Linked DNA regions of Homo sapiens: regions 1 and 3 are each linked to region 2. The links are contacts of gene promoters, found by promoter capture Hi-C in human tissues and cell types (Jung and others, 2019). All regions are on one chromosome and are shown on one strand. The core of a region is centred on a gene start or on the middle of the fragment in contact, and the rest is flanking DNA. Distances in the headings are between cores, read along the strand shown. Region 1 overlaps DLG1 (discs large MAGUK scaffold protein 1). Region 2 holds the start of PIGZ (phosphatidylinositol glycan anchor biosynthesis class Z (Gwada blood group)). Region 3 overlaps LOC105374308 (a long non-coding RNA gene).

Region 1 (4,511 bases), core at 988-3,487, 320 kb before region 2:
TTTTTCAGAACTGAGTATTTTAATCTGATAAAGAATACTAAATGACAAGCATGCTTAAGACAGATAGCAATCTTTAGGGTTAGTAATCTTTAAATGATTGTCACTTTGAAGGAAAATATTTATAATGGTGCATTATGTTTATGATGATGGAAATCACACATTTTGAAAACAGTGTTTAGTAATCAGGGTTTGAGATCTTCCAGCTATAGTGGTAAAATGTCAAAATTTCTTAAATTTCTTTTGCATTATATTAGTCCCACTGATGTTACATTTTAGTCTCTTGCTAACTGTGTGTGTGTGTGTGTGTGTGTGTGTGTGTGTGTGTGTGTAACTTTGTAGGCTAGATTTGAGTAAGGAAAACAGGATATGGATCACATCGTTGGCTGAAACTTCCTGAAATGGAGAATTTTAGTAACTTCTCACTTGATGGTTTTGATTCAATTAGATTGAGTTCTTTGCTCATAGTTTGCTTACTACTGCTCTGAAGCAGTGTTTTGATTATGTTGAATCTGGCTGAATTCTCTTTAGAACCTTGGAATCAGAGTTGTAAAGGCATCTAAATATTTCTTCTAAGCCATTTCCTCTCTGCAGGGTCATATTTTTCCTCAGTGCAGAATCCAGACTTGGACCAGATATTACCGTTAGTTGTCACGTCTCTTTACTTAGGGCACATTTCCACAGCTTTTCTTTGTCTTGTGTGAGACTGACTTTTTTTTTTTTTTTTTTTTTTTTACTATTTGGAGACAGGGTCTTGCTCTGCCACCCAGGCTGGAGTGCAGTGGTGGCTTACTGCAACCTCTGCTTCCCAGGCTCAAGCAATCCTCCTGCCTCAGGCTCCTGAGTAGCTGGGACTACAGGTGTGAGCCCCCACGCCTGGCTAACTTTTTCTAGAGACAGGTGTTGCCCAGGCTGGTCTCGAACTCCTGAGCAAAGTTCTGGGATTACAGGTGTGAGCCACTGCGCCCAGCTGAGATTGATGATTTTGAAAAACGCAGTTCCTTCCACTCTTACTTTTTTTTAATATAATTTTCTCATTTTGGGTTTGTCTGATGTTTCCTTGTGATTAGATTCAGGTTTTGTATTCCTGGCTTAGGATTCTGTACATCCAGAGGTACACAGAGTCATCTGCTCTTTGTTGATGATACTGATTTTGATTACCTAGTTGGGTGTTGTCTGAATTCTGTATCCTATAGTCATTGTTTTTTACCCCTTGTGGCTTATAGGCAATATGTGGGGGAGACACTTTAACACCATGTACATATCCTACTCCTTAGCAAAATTTCCACCCATATTTAGCATCCATTGATGATTCTTGAACCGGTTTATAATATGGTTGTTGAAAAGTAAGATTTCTAACAGTAACACTCCTAGGTTTACCAGTTAACACTTTGCATTTTATTCTAAACAAGAGCCTTCCTTCTTTTTTTCCCGTGTCTTTCATGAACTTGCAGATACCTGTTTTTTTTTCAATGACTTATCATTTATTACCATCCTTAATGACATTTGTGCTCTGAGTGATCCAGTGGGGGCCCTTTCAAGCTTGTGTCCTTATGAGATGCCCTCATCATTTTTTGGAGCACTTTCTTAATTTTTGGCATAACAAGATGTTCCAGGTTTATCTTGTACCTCTCCTGCCCCAGCCCTGGAATCAGCCATTTCTCTGAGAAGCTCTGGTTCCTTTTAGTACACACCTTGTTTTATGGAATATGCTTGTGAGTCATGTATGATTCTTAGTCTAATAGTATCTAAAGTATTCAAGTGATTTATTTTTGCCTACTAGCTTGACATCTTTCCTTTCTTTAGTGTGTGAAACAATAGTACAAACTTTTAAATTTTATAGGATATTCTTTCTTCTAGGGGTCAAAAATGACTTTTTAAATGAACATTGGTTTAGAAGAAAGAGTATTTGTGCTTGAGTAGATTTGACTATTGTGGTATTATCTTAGTATGTCATCTGCCCTTCACTGATGATGTTAATTTTGATTACTCAATTGGGTATTGTCTGAATAATCATACTTGCTTTTAGTAAATGAACTGATAGAATTTTTTTCCTCTGAAATGGTAGGGTTATATTTCAGTGTTCTTCAGCTTTCTAGTTGCCTTTCCTGTAACCCTCCAAAATAAATTTATTATAAAAATGATGCATGTTCTATATAAAACATTTGAGATCAGATTATTATATGTAAAATACCATAAGAAAATATTCACACCAGAGGTTACCTCCTACTTCATCCATGGGATGAATATCCTGGAATGTTATTTGTGTGTGTGTGTGTGTGTGTGTGTGTATGCGCGTGTATACACGCCACCCCCCACCTTCATTTTGCAAAACAAACTTCTAAGTAAAACAGTTATTTCCCTTGTGAGAATTGATACTTAAAATCAGCATGTAAGGTGAAAAACCTCATCTAGTTAAAATTATCCCTGAAAAGCCTTCAGAAATTTAACACTAGCTCTTGTTAATTACAGCACAATTGTTTTTTTTCCTCTAGTGGAAAGGAATGATTTCTTCACTTGAGCCCTAGACGAAGCAACTGGCTTGTTTGACTTCTTGTACTAAAAACACGTAATTATAGAATCACACTCAGCACAGTGAGATATAGCAAGAAGCTCACATTTTGAGAGGCACATGAAAACTCAGACTACCTAAAGGAAGAATCTTCTTCCTTCTCATTTTTTTATTTGTGACAGTCACTTATTGGGTAGACAGAGTTGCCCTTTTTTGCAGGGGAGATATACTGCAGTTGTATTTGTATAAGTGTGAATAGTATGATTTCTCTGTACTATACATATTGTTTTTATCTTCTAAAGTTTATCGACAAATGTCTTTCCATGTCAGTAGATTTCTACCATTTTATGTATGTATGTATGTATGTATGTATGTATTTTTTTTTTTTTTTTTTTTTTTTTGAGACAGTTTCACTCTTGTTGCCCAGGCTGGAGTGCAATGGCTTGATCTCAGCTCACCACAACCTCCGCCTCCTAGGTTCAAGCGATTCTCCTGCCTCAGCCTCCTGAATAGCTGGGATTACAGGCATGTGCCACCACGCCTGGCTAATTTTGTATTTTTAATACAGACAGGGTTTCTTCATGTTGGTCAGGTTGGTCTCGAACTCCTGACCTCAGGTGATCCGCCCGCCTCAGCCTCTCGAAGTGCTGGGATTACATGCATGAACCACTGTGCCTGGCCAGATTCGTACCATTTTAAGTGACTGTGTATATAGATTTTTTTTTTCCTTTTCTTTTCTTTTTTTTTTTTTTTTTTTTGAGACGGAGTCTTGATCTGTCACCAGGCTGGAGTGTAGTGGTGCAATCTCGGCTCACTGCTACCTCTGCCTCCTGGGTTCAAGTGATTCTCCTGCCTCAGCCTCCTGAGTAGCTGGGATTACAGGCGTGCGCCACCACGCCTAGCTAGTTTTTGCATTTTTAGTAGAGACAGGGTTTCACCATGTTGGCCAGGATGGTCTCGATCTCTTGACCTCCTGATCTGCCTGCTTCAGGCTCCCAAAGTGCTGGGATTACAGGTGTGAGCCACTGCACCCGGCCTATATAGATTTTCTGTAGTTTTTTTAATGGTTTCCTAGGAGCATTTAGGTTTGTAATTTTTGTGAATTATAAATATTGTATTTGCATATGCATTTTTGTTTCAATTCTTTACTATATTCTTAGGACAAACTCCTAGAAATGAATTGTTTGGTCAAAGGGAGTGTGCATTTTAAGGCTATTGAGGTAATTTGTTAAATACTCTTAGGAATGTTGTATTTATTTTTTAGGAAGTATGTGGAAGAATGACCAATTCACCATACCTTAAGCAATACAGAGTGTTATCCATCTTTTAAATATTTTCTACTCTGATATATGGAATATACCTTTAGTCATTTTTCTGTTTTATTGTGCATTTTGTTGATTAAAGAAATATCCAAAGCTGTAAGAAAGTCTTTAATTATTTTAATTTCTTTTGTAAATTATCTGTTTAATTTGTGCCCCTTCCTCCTCCTTTTTCCTTTTTCTTAGAGGTATAAAATCTACATTAGGCCTGTCAACTCTGCCGTGTAAATTGCAAATAACTTCCCGTGTTACTTGCTTTTAAACTTGGCTTTTAAAGAAAACATATATATATATGGTTGGGTTTATCAATATTTTTCTTTATCAATATACTGCTTTCTGCCCTTAATACGTTTGGAAACATTCCCAATGCTCTAAGCCCCAACATTATTATAATCTATTGCCAAGATTGTAAAAACCTGTATTCAAATTCTTTCAAGACTTTAACATTTTAATGCATTTGAAAATTATCTTGATATAAAGTATGAGATTGCCTTTTAATATAAGTTTATTTATCTCTCATGCAGTTTAAGAAATTAATAGATTTTTTTCAGCAGTTTTGAATTTACAGAAGAATTGAGTGGAAAGTACAGTTCCCATATCCCAAAGCCCCACTTCCCTTTTCCATCTTGTAGGCCATGTGTGGTGGCTCAACGCATGTAATCCCAACATTTTGGGAGGCCAGG
Region 2 (4,111 bases), core at 1,327-3,826:
CCTGGTAACTGCCTCCTTGTGGGATGTATACATACAACCAACTAGACTCACCCCACTGACGCCCACACCCTGCATGGACTATGCAGATATGTCTCAGTGACCACCCCTAAGTCACAAGGTGGCCCCACAGGACTCCAGTTCGCTCCTCTAGGTGAACCAATTAGAGCTCCCCTTGGGAAAACTGCTTGAGTAATGCCCTGCACTCCAATAAAAGCCTCAGCCCACAGGTCCGTCTCTCTCTGGCTCCCCCCACCCCCACAACGATTGTGTACAGTGTCCCCAAGACATTCCCGACGGCCCTCAGTGTGCCCTCTTCCCCTGTGGATCTGTAAGTAATAGGACCACTTCTGTTAGTTCCTGTGTTTCGTTGTGTTGCCTGCTCTGTGTCATGCCTGACTGAGACGCTCAAACGTAACGTTTTCCCTGGTCAGGGCTTTCCCTAGAGAGCAGCTATCTTGGTAGGAATAAACTAGATACAGGTCAGACAAGAAGCACAAGGAGATCTGCCAGGATAAATATGTCTCCTGGGAGAGGGACACCCGGTCACAGGTCAGCCAGGATACAGAGGTGCCCCATGAAAGGCCCACGGCAAACACCCACGCCCAAATCCCAGGAGCCCTGTCAGGGCAGAGTTGGCCTTTACAGTGGCTCTCCAGGGAGGTCTCAAGACCAAGGTAGAGGAAAATACAACACACACACGCCACACGGGCGACGCTCAGCTGCATGGTGCCAAGCGAAGAAAGCCAGGCACAAAAGACCACACGGTGAATGGTTCTCCTTGCATGCAATTGCGAGAGAGGCAAAGGGCAGTGACAGAAATCAGAGGAGCAGTTGTCTGGAACCAGGGCGGAGGGGAGGTGAGGGGTTAGCTGCAGAGGGGCAGGAGGGTACTTTTGGGAGGAGAGGACTTCTTGAACTCGGGGGGAGACTAGCCTGGTGGTTTCGCGTGTCAGAAGTCATGGAACTGAGCCGGGCATGGTGGCGGGGCCTGTGGTCCCAGCTGCTCGGGAGGCTGAGGCAGGAGGATCGCTGGAGCCTAGAAGTTCAAGGCTGCGGTGAGCCGAGATCGTGCCACCGCACTCCAGCCTGGGCGACAGAGACCCTGTATCTAAAAAATAAAGGAAAAAATTCATGGAACTGTATACTTCCATGTACTGTACTTAAATTTCCTGGTATTTATCGTATGTATAGAATACCTCACATCTTAATAAAGTCGTCGTTTTTAGTGTGAGGGGTGCTATGGGGCACGGAGGGCGATCCGGCTGCCGACCCTCGGCGGCGGCGCGGGAGTGCGAGGCCGGCGGGGAGGTCGGGTCCTGCGGCCTCGCCGGGGCCCCTGCAGCGCTCTCCCGCCAGGGGGCAGCGTCGGGCCGGCGGCGCGGGCGGGAAGCTCCAGCGGCCGGGACGCGGTGGTGCCGTCTTCCCCCTGCGGTGAGGGACCGCGTCGCGCCACCCCGCTCTCAGCGCAGCCCGCAGCGGCGAGGCCACCGGGTGGGACACGGGTGCCCGCGCGTCGCGCCGCAGCTCGCGGGGACCTGGCGCCCCGTCCCGGGAGGGGATCTGGCCCCCGGGCGCCGGCTCTCCGTCCACGCGGCGTCCTCCCTGCAGCCCGCTAGGGCCGCTCGCCCGTCGCCGCCTGCGGAACGCGGAGGGGCAGCACGGCCACGCCCGGCCACTCGAACCTGCTCCCCGGCGCCGCGTGACCGTGTCAGGTCCCCGTCGGCCTCGCCGTGCCGACCCCGGGCGCCTCCACAGTGGCTCGGAGGCCGCTGCTGCCCGGATGCCCGGGTTCCACGAGGCTCTCCCAGCCCGACAAGCCCGCCGATCCCACGGGCACGGGCGGAGGAGAGGGAACCGCCGCGCCCGCCCCGCGCGCCGTCGCCGACCCCGGTGGGTCGCGCTTCCCCGCGCACGCCGCGCTCTGGCGCGGGGAGAGGCCCCTCGGGGTCCGCCCGGGTCAGCGTCCCGCGGGGGTGGCGGCCGTTCGCTCAGCCTCCTCTCGACTTCCCTTTCCTGTCAGGGCTGCTGGGGCTGACAGGCTCCCGGGCAACCACGCCGGGGAACCCCTCACGCCCGCCGATCGCTGCGGGGCTCAGCAGCCGCCCCGTGCGCTGAGTCCCCTGTCATGAGTGACTCCATTGCGAGGCGTTTCGGGCCACGAAGCAGGACCGGGGGCCGCACTCCGGGTCCCCGCCCTGCCCTCGCCGACCTCCCGCGCGTGGAAGGGGGACGGCGGCGGCGGAGCTCCCCGCCACGGAGAACCCCGAAATGGTCATTTCGAACGAGAGGAGTGTGGCCTGGGGTGTCTGGTTTAACAGCCCCCCGCGCCGAAAGGCTGTTCGCCGAGGAGGGGCCGCCGGGGAGGGAGCCCGAGCGCGGCGGGGCGAGACCGGTCCCCGCCCGGCGTTGCCCGGCCCGAGGGACGGCGGCGCCCCCAGGACCCTCCCCAGCGCGGCCCCAGCTCGCTCCGGGACCGCGGGGCCAGGCCGGGCGGGAGCGCGGGGACGTACACGGCGGCCCCGCCCGCGCGCTCCTCCTCCCTCCCGGCCCGCCCTGCGCCGGCGGCGGCGGCCCCAGTCTCCGCGCTGCTGAGGCGCGCCCGGCCGCTCCCACGGCCTCCCCTCCGCCCTGCGGTCCCGCCGCCTCCGGGGCCTCCTGGGACCCTGGCCCTCGCCGGGCAGGACGCCGCCAGCGCTGAAGGCGCAGCCCGGAGGCCGCGCGGGTGAGTCGGTGCGCAGCCCCAGCGGCTCCAGAGGAGCGGGTGCGGGGAGGGCGAGCGGACCAAGTCGGCCGCGTTCCCACCTTGCGCGCAGCCGGGAGACCAGCAGGCCCAGCCTCTAGGGAGGAGGGCAGGGGAGCTGGGGGCCGCCCCCCGCATTCTCGCAGGCACCTGTCCCTAGGCCGGGGTCCGCTGGCTCGAAGCACTGACCCGCCCCGGACCTAGGGGGACGGAGGCAGCGGTGACATTTGCCCAGGAAGGGCGGCAGTGGGTAAACTCCACTCCAGGGCACGGGTCTGGGCGCAGGTTGAGGCCTGGGGTTGAATCTGCTTCTGCTAGAGGCCAGTGTTCTCAGGGAGGCCCATAACCCGACTGGGTCTCAGTTCCCCCTGGTATGAAACAGCAACAGGGCAAGAGGAGGAAACCATGCCACGCTGCAAAGCTCTGAGCACGAAGCCGAGAAGAATCTCGGCTCCCGGCCTCGGGGGCTGCACTTCGGGCCAGGCCTGCACTCCCAGGATAAGAGGATGGCCTCCTGCCCCAGGGGTGGCATGGGGGCGCGCAAAAAGCAAAGGTGACCCTGCCAGGGAGCACCCAGCGCTCCGGTTGGTGGTCATGGGGTCTTTGCGTGGGACTCACAGTGTGGCCGGGAAAGTTCTGTAATGAGGACATTTCTCATCATTCCTTCTTCTCAAAAGTCATTCGTCAGCCCCAGACACCTTTGCCTCGGAAAACTGAGAACTACTTTCAAAATCGTCAACACCCCCATCTCCTGCTACAGAGCGGAGTCCCCACTTTGCAGAGGCGCACTGCAAGGTCGCGGGTGGTTAAATGGTGCGCCCTCCTTGATGAAGATGCCTTGTTCTCTTTCACTCTCTATGTGTGTTTAATGTTGTGTGTTGCGTTCTCTGTGAAGCGAAGGATAAACACGGGCCCTTTCAGGCAACCGAAGGAAGAAGGCGGCCAGCATCAGATCTTCCCGTGCTTCAAGGTGGAGCACCCTGCAGGGCTTACTGCAGCGCTCAGGGTCAAAGTGAGGATGCAGTGCGGCACCAAAAGGCAAATGGACTCTGGAGAGCCACTCTCACCTTGTACCCCTGGAGTAGACCCCGAGGACTGGAGGACTGGAACAAGATCTTAGTCCTGAGGGCGGGAGAAGCAGCCTTTGGTGGTTGCACAGGGGCCCGGCTTTTCCCGAAGTCTTAAAGCCTGCTCCAAATGCCAGATTCAGACAAAGGGGCCGAACCTTGGGCCCGCCGCCTTCTCCCATAAGCGGCAACCCAGCAGCTTTGCCAGGAAGTTTACATGTGAAGGTACGGACCTTTCTTGGAATGAGCCACACCTGATGGCCCTGCCACTCCGGACGGCGCTCGTTCACGGCTGTCCCTGGAG
Region 3 (4,581 bases), core at 1,684-4,183, 450 kb before region 2:
GAGGGAGCCCCCAACCAAAGGCTCCAGCAGTTTTATGGACCCTGGGGTCGGGGTGTGGGGTAGAGTGGAAAAATCCTGGGTGCTGATTCAGAGTGGGGAAGCATGTCTTCAGGGTTCGCCCTCCTCCCCCTGGTAAAGAGGCCTCGGAAGAGGCACCTGAAAAAAAACCTCAGCCGAAGGCCTCAGAGAAAGAGATTTAGGAATGAAGACACTGGGCTAGGAATGCAAATATGTGAAGAGCATAGCATAGCAGGGCTGAGTCCTTAACTCCCCTCAGAGCCTCCTGTGTGCTGGCTGGGCACCAGGTCTGGTGTGGGGAGGGGAGCTTCCCCAGGAGGGCTGCCAGGTCAAGCCTCTGCCATTGCTTGCAGTCAGACCTGAAAAATCACACATAGGTGTTTGACCAGGAGCCAGACTCGTCAAATACATACACCCCACAATGGAGCAGGTGCGCCAGAATGTTATCCGTGGTTTCTCTTGGTCAGGGCCGTCCAACAGACATGTGATGTGAGTCATATATATGATTTTACGGTTTTTAGTAGCTTCTGAAAACAGTAAAAAGGAACAGGTCAAATTAATTTTAATAATATATTTGTTGGCTGGATGGGTGCAGTGACTCACACCTGTAATCCCAGCACTTTGGGAGGCCGAGGACGGGTGAATCATCTGAGGTCAGGAGTTTGAGACCGCGTGACCAACGTGGCGAAACCCTGTCTCTACTAAAGATACAAAAATTAGCTGGGTGTGGTGGCGGATGCCTGTAATCCCAGCTACTCGGGAGTCTGAGGTAGGAGAATTGCTTGAACCTGGGAGGCAGATGTTGCAGTGAGCCAAGATCATGCCACTGGACTCTAAAAAAAAAAAAAAATTATGTATTGTCCAATATATCCAGAATGTTATCATCTCAGGCATGTAATGAGTATTTTTGAAAGTATTAATGAGATATTTTACATTTTTTGAACTAAATCTTCCACTCCGGTGTATATTTTATACTTACAGTGCATCTCCGTTCAGATCAGCCGCATTTCCAATGCTCGGGAGCAGCGCATGCTTACTTGCTACCGTGTCAGAGGCGGCACTGGGCTAGGCGATGGGTGGGCTTATGAATTCTTAAAACATATATTTCCACGTTTTCTACCATAAATGTGCATTTTACATTTTATTTAGAAAATTATAGTCTATAAATATAATCTTATCTAGGTTTTGTTTATTTTCTATTTTATTTTAGTAGAAATTTCCTCTTTAAAATCCGGGCTTTGTCTGCATCTGTGGTGGTCTAAGAATAAAAGGGGCTACTTCCTTTTTGAGAGAGTGAGCCCAGAAAGCATCGACTGGGCAAGGACTACACTCGGCTCAACTTTGGAACCTCAGGAAGAGGTCCTCGTGGTGGCAGACAGAGGGGACTGCACCAGGGTGGACACCTGGGTGGGAACCTGGGCGGGCCGAGGCCTCCTCTCTGCCTGGTGCGGCTTCCTGCATAGGTCTGACCACCACTCAGACCAAAGCCACCCCGCCCCAGAACTGGGGTCTGACCAGACATCTCTCACTGGCCCCCACTTACAAATATGCAACTCTTTCTTAGCAGCTGCATGTCTTCAAGGAATGATGGGACACTATGTTTAAGCTCCAGAAATCGAAGCAGGACTCAAAGAAGCAGGCCAGTTCTGCTCTGCCCCCAAAGGTGAGTGCTTACTCTTTACTGCTGCATTTTGGAACAGTAAAAAAATAATCGTTTACAGCAGAGCATCAGAGAATGCACAGTCCAAGGCTTATAGGAAATACTTGCAGGTTGGTTAGCTGGTTGGCTAGTTGGTTGGTTGGGAAACATCTGCTGTGGGAAGGTAGAAGAGAATTGGCCCTGTGGCTAGAGACAGCTTGGAAATGGAAAGAACCCTGAACTGGGCTCAGGACCAGGTCCCCTGACCTCTCTATGTGACCTTGAGCAATGCACTTCCCTACCTGGGACGTCATGTTCCTCCACAGACAGGGGATTAAATAGGTATCACGAGATAACTTCTGAGACCCATTGCGGTGAAAGCATTTTGTGATTTTTGCCTCTGGAGGAAGTATTGAAAAGTCAGACAGTCCAAAGATGAATTTTAAAATGACTTCCAAGTCTGATTCCTGGGACAGTTGGGGCCAGAAGAGGAGAACAACCTGCATTTACCATTAGGACCAACATGAAGTGGAAAAGAACTGCCCCAGAGCCAGGGACCTGAGTAGGCAGGACTCGATGAGAACCGCCTGGGCAGACAGCATCAGCAGACACAATACTGCTGATTTTTTTTTCCCAATGGAAAAGTCCTTTTTGTCTGAGGCAATGTTTTCCACAGCTCTAGGGGACTGTGGTCATTTCCTAACAAGATTTTTCCTATTTTGTGCAGCTGGGGTCTGGCATTGGAAACACTGAGTGTTTTCAGGCTGAAACTCACTTAGGTCCTCCAGGGCCAAAGGCTGCTGGGTAAATTCAGGGTTTGGTGCAATCTGTGCTATAGTCTCTGCCCCTCAAACCATGGGGCACTGCCCTTTTCTTTAATACTTTGGAATTATAGCATTAGATACATAAAATTACAAAATATCAGAGCTGTAAAGACTTTGAGAGGCCACCTAGTCTATTCTTCTTCTAGAGAAGGGGAAACTGAAGCCCAGAAAAGGAGAGGAACTGACTCCAAGCCACACGTTCAATTAGAGAGAAGCCCACCCTCCTGACTCTTGATCCAGGTCCTCTGGACTCTCAGCCAACACCTGTCCACTGCACTTCCTCCTTTGGGGATGTGGGGAGTGAGGTGACCAGGAGAAGGTCACTTAGAAGGTCACTTAGAAGGTCAGTTAGAAGAGAAACTAACTGGCTATGAATGATTTCATATGTTTCAACCTTACGCCTCTACCTCCTGGTTACCTGATGATACCTCTCTCTCTATTTCCTGATTACTCCTCCTGGTTACCTGATGATACCTCTCTCTCTGTTTCCTGATTACTCCATCCTTGTTCTTTGGCTTTCAGTGTTTATTAGAGATAATAGATGGACTACATGCACACACAGGTTCATTCCATTGACGTTCACCAAGAGCCTTCCACTGCTGAGGATGCAAGATGAGTAAGTTACAGGTCCACTGTAGCCTGGGAGAGTCACTTTCCCTGTCCGAAGCAGTGAGCATAGCAGAGTCCAACTAAAGCACTGCTCAGGTGGCACAGAGAAGGGGTTTGCTCTGTCTAGCGCAGATCGGGGATTGCAGAAGAAGATTGATTGGCAAACAGAGATCTAACTATACATAATCGATGCCGATATTTTGCTTATTTGGTAAAGGAGTTGAAATCAATTTCTAGCATATGGGTAGGTGTTTGTATTTAATTTATCATGACCATCAGGCAAGGGCCATGAGAAACAGGGTCTCCCCTGGATTCAGCCTCATATGGTTCTGCCTCAGGTGGCAATTTCACAGCGCCTTTCTCTACTTCATCTTTTCTGGTATTAGCTTACACTGCTGACTAAATGCACCTGGCCTGTTCATAGCCTAAAAGCCTCTGCCAAAGTCTTTCTCATCCCACTGAAGACACAGCCTTCGGGAAGGGACAGCAGGCTAAGCCAAGCTGAGCCTGTGCCTGTGCCTTTGTCACATTCTGGAGCCACAATGGGACTAGGGACTCCCTTTCCACCGGGAGGCTGGGAGAGAGTACGATGGGAGTCAATCTTCCAGGTCTCTTTGAAAAGAAAGTCAGTTTGAAAATGTCGAACACCTGGCTCAGTTAGACCTTTCTCCAGGTTGTCATTTACTTAGAAAAGGAGCACTATTCAAGCCTTAAATGTCAGCTTCTTGCCTCTAAAACTGTGGGATCGGGTAAACCCCTGGGCACTTCAGCCTGTACTCCTATACCAAGGGCTGGGCTCCCTGGCTGTTAGTGGAGGGCAGCAGACACCCTGCCCAGGAATCCTATACCAAGGGCTGGGCTCCCTGGCTGTTAGTGGAGGGCAGCAGACACCCCGCCCAGGAGTCAGCCCCAGGGAAATGTCCACTAGGTACCAAAGATTCTGGGATTTCGGTTTGTCTGTGAGTTTCATGCATCTCATTCCTGAGGGCAGTTCCTAAATCTTTACCCTTGTATGTTTGAAAGATGACAACTCTTTAAAAACACGACTAGACCTGAGCTTTAAGTCCCAAGCTTGGGTCCCTTTACCTGGCAGCTCTTCCTATATCCAGCCAGCCGCCTTCTATGAGCTAATCCCTGTCTTGGCTCCTGCCTGTGCACTGCCTTCCCCATCCCTGTGAGGCACCATATGCTTAATGATACCCTCTAAAGAGGACGAATCTCCCTTAGCTGTCCTCTAACATTTGGAATGTACTGTCCCCTCTACAGTGTTAAAAACCAAAACAAAACAAAATAAATTAAGCTCTAATGCAGCTGGAGAGCTAATGGACCTCTCTTTCCCAGGAAAAGGAAAACAAAGATTCCAACCATTTGCAGCTCCTGAAAAATTCCGCCGACAGATGATCAGCCTCATTCCAGGCTAACTAACTGCTAACGAGCTTGAATTCGCCTATTCAGGGAATGTCCTTTGTTCACTTCTCTGCTACCTGAATT

The links. Contacts are between HindIII fragments. The study calls those that stand out against the background at their distance.
Region 1: a fragment that was not itself captured here is called in contact with the fragment with the promoter of PIGZ in region 2 in 1 of the 25 tissues and cell types used here (dorsolateral prefrontal cortex).
Region 3: a contact is called between a fragment that was not itself captured here and the fragment with the promoter of PIGZ in region 2, in 1 of the 25 tissues and cell types used here (dorsolateral prefrontal cortex).

Annotation. Positions count from the first base shown.
Region 1 is chr3:197,287,119-197,291,629 of GRCh38, reverse strand. All of the region lies in intron 3 of DLG1 (discs large MAGUK scaffold protein 1), which reads left to right. Among named protein-coding and RNA genes, the nearest start is that of MIR4797, 4.6 kb to the left of the region's middle. The HindIII fragment of the contact is 4,093 bases long and covers 191-4,283 here.
Region 2 is chr3:196,967,298-196,971,408 of GRCh38, reverse strand. It overlaps PIGZ (phosphatidylinositol glycan anchor biosynthesis class Z (Gwada blood group)), which reads left to right and starts at 2,576. Exons shown (of 3, transcript NM_025163.4): 1 at 2,576-2,722. LOC124906255 (collagen alpha-1(I) chain-like) reads right to left here and starts at 2,276. Exons shown (of 3, transcript XM_047449439.1): 1 at 2,160-2,276; 2 at 1,197-2,013; 3 at 1-1,108. The coding sequence starts at 2,276. The coding sequence ends at 1,198. RefSeq lists silencers at 1,237-1,456, 1,467-1,786, 1,897-1,956, 2,067-2,126, 2,137-2,346 and 1 more and enhancers at 1,392-1,927, 1,928-2,463, 2,464-2,999. The HindIII fragment of the contact is 30,202 bases long and covers 1-4,111 here.
Region 3 is chr3:197,418,080-197,422,660 of GRCh38, reverse strand. LOC105374308 (a long non-coding RNA gene) reads left to right here. Exons shown (of 5, transcript NR_189108.1): 4 at 1,583-1,681; 5 at 4,432-4,581. Among named protein-coding and RNA genes, the nearest start is that of LINC02012, 89 kb to the left of the region's middle. RefSeq lists a silencer at 4,329-4,581 and an enhancer at 4,235-4,581. The HindIII fragment of the contact is 7,267 bases long and covers 1-4,581 here.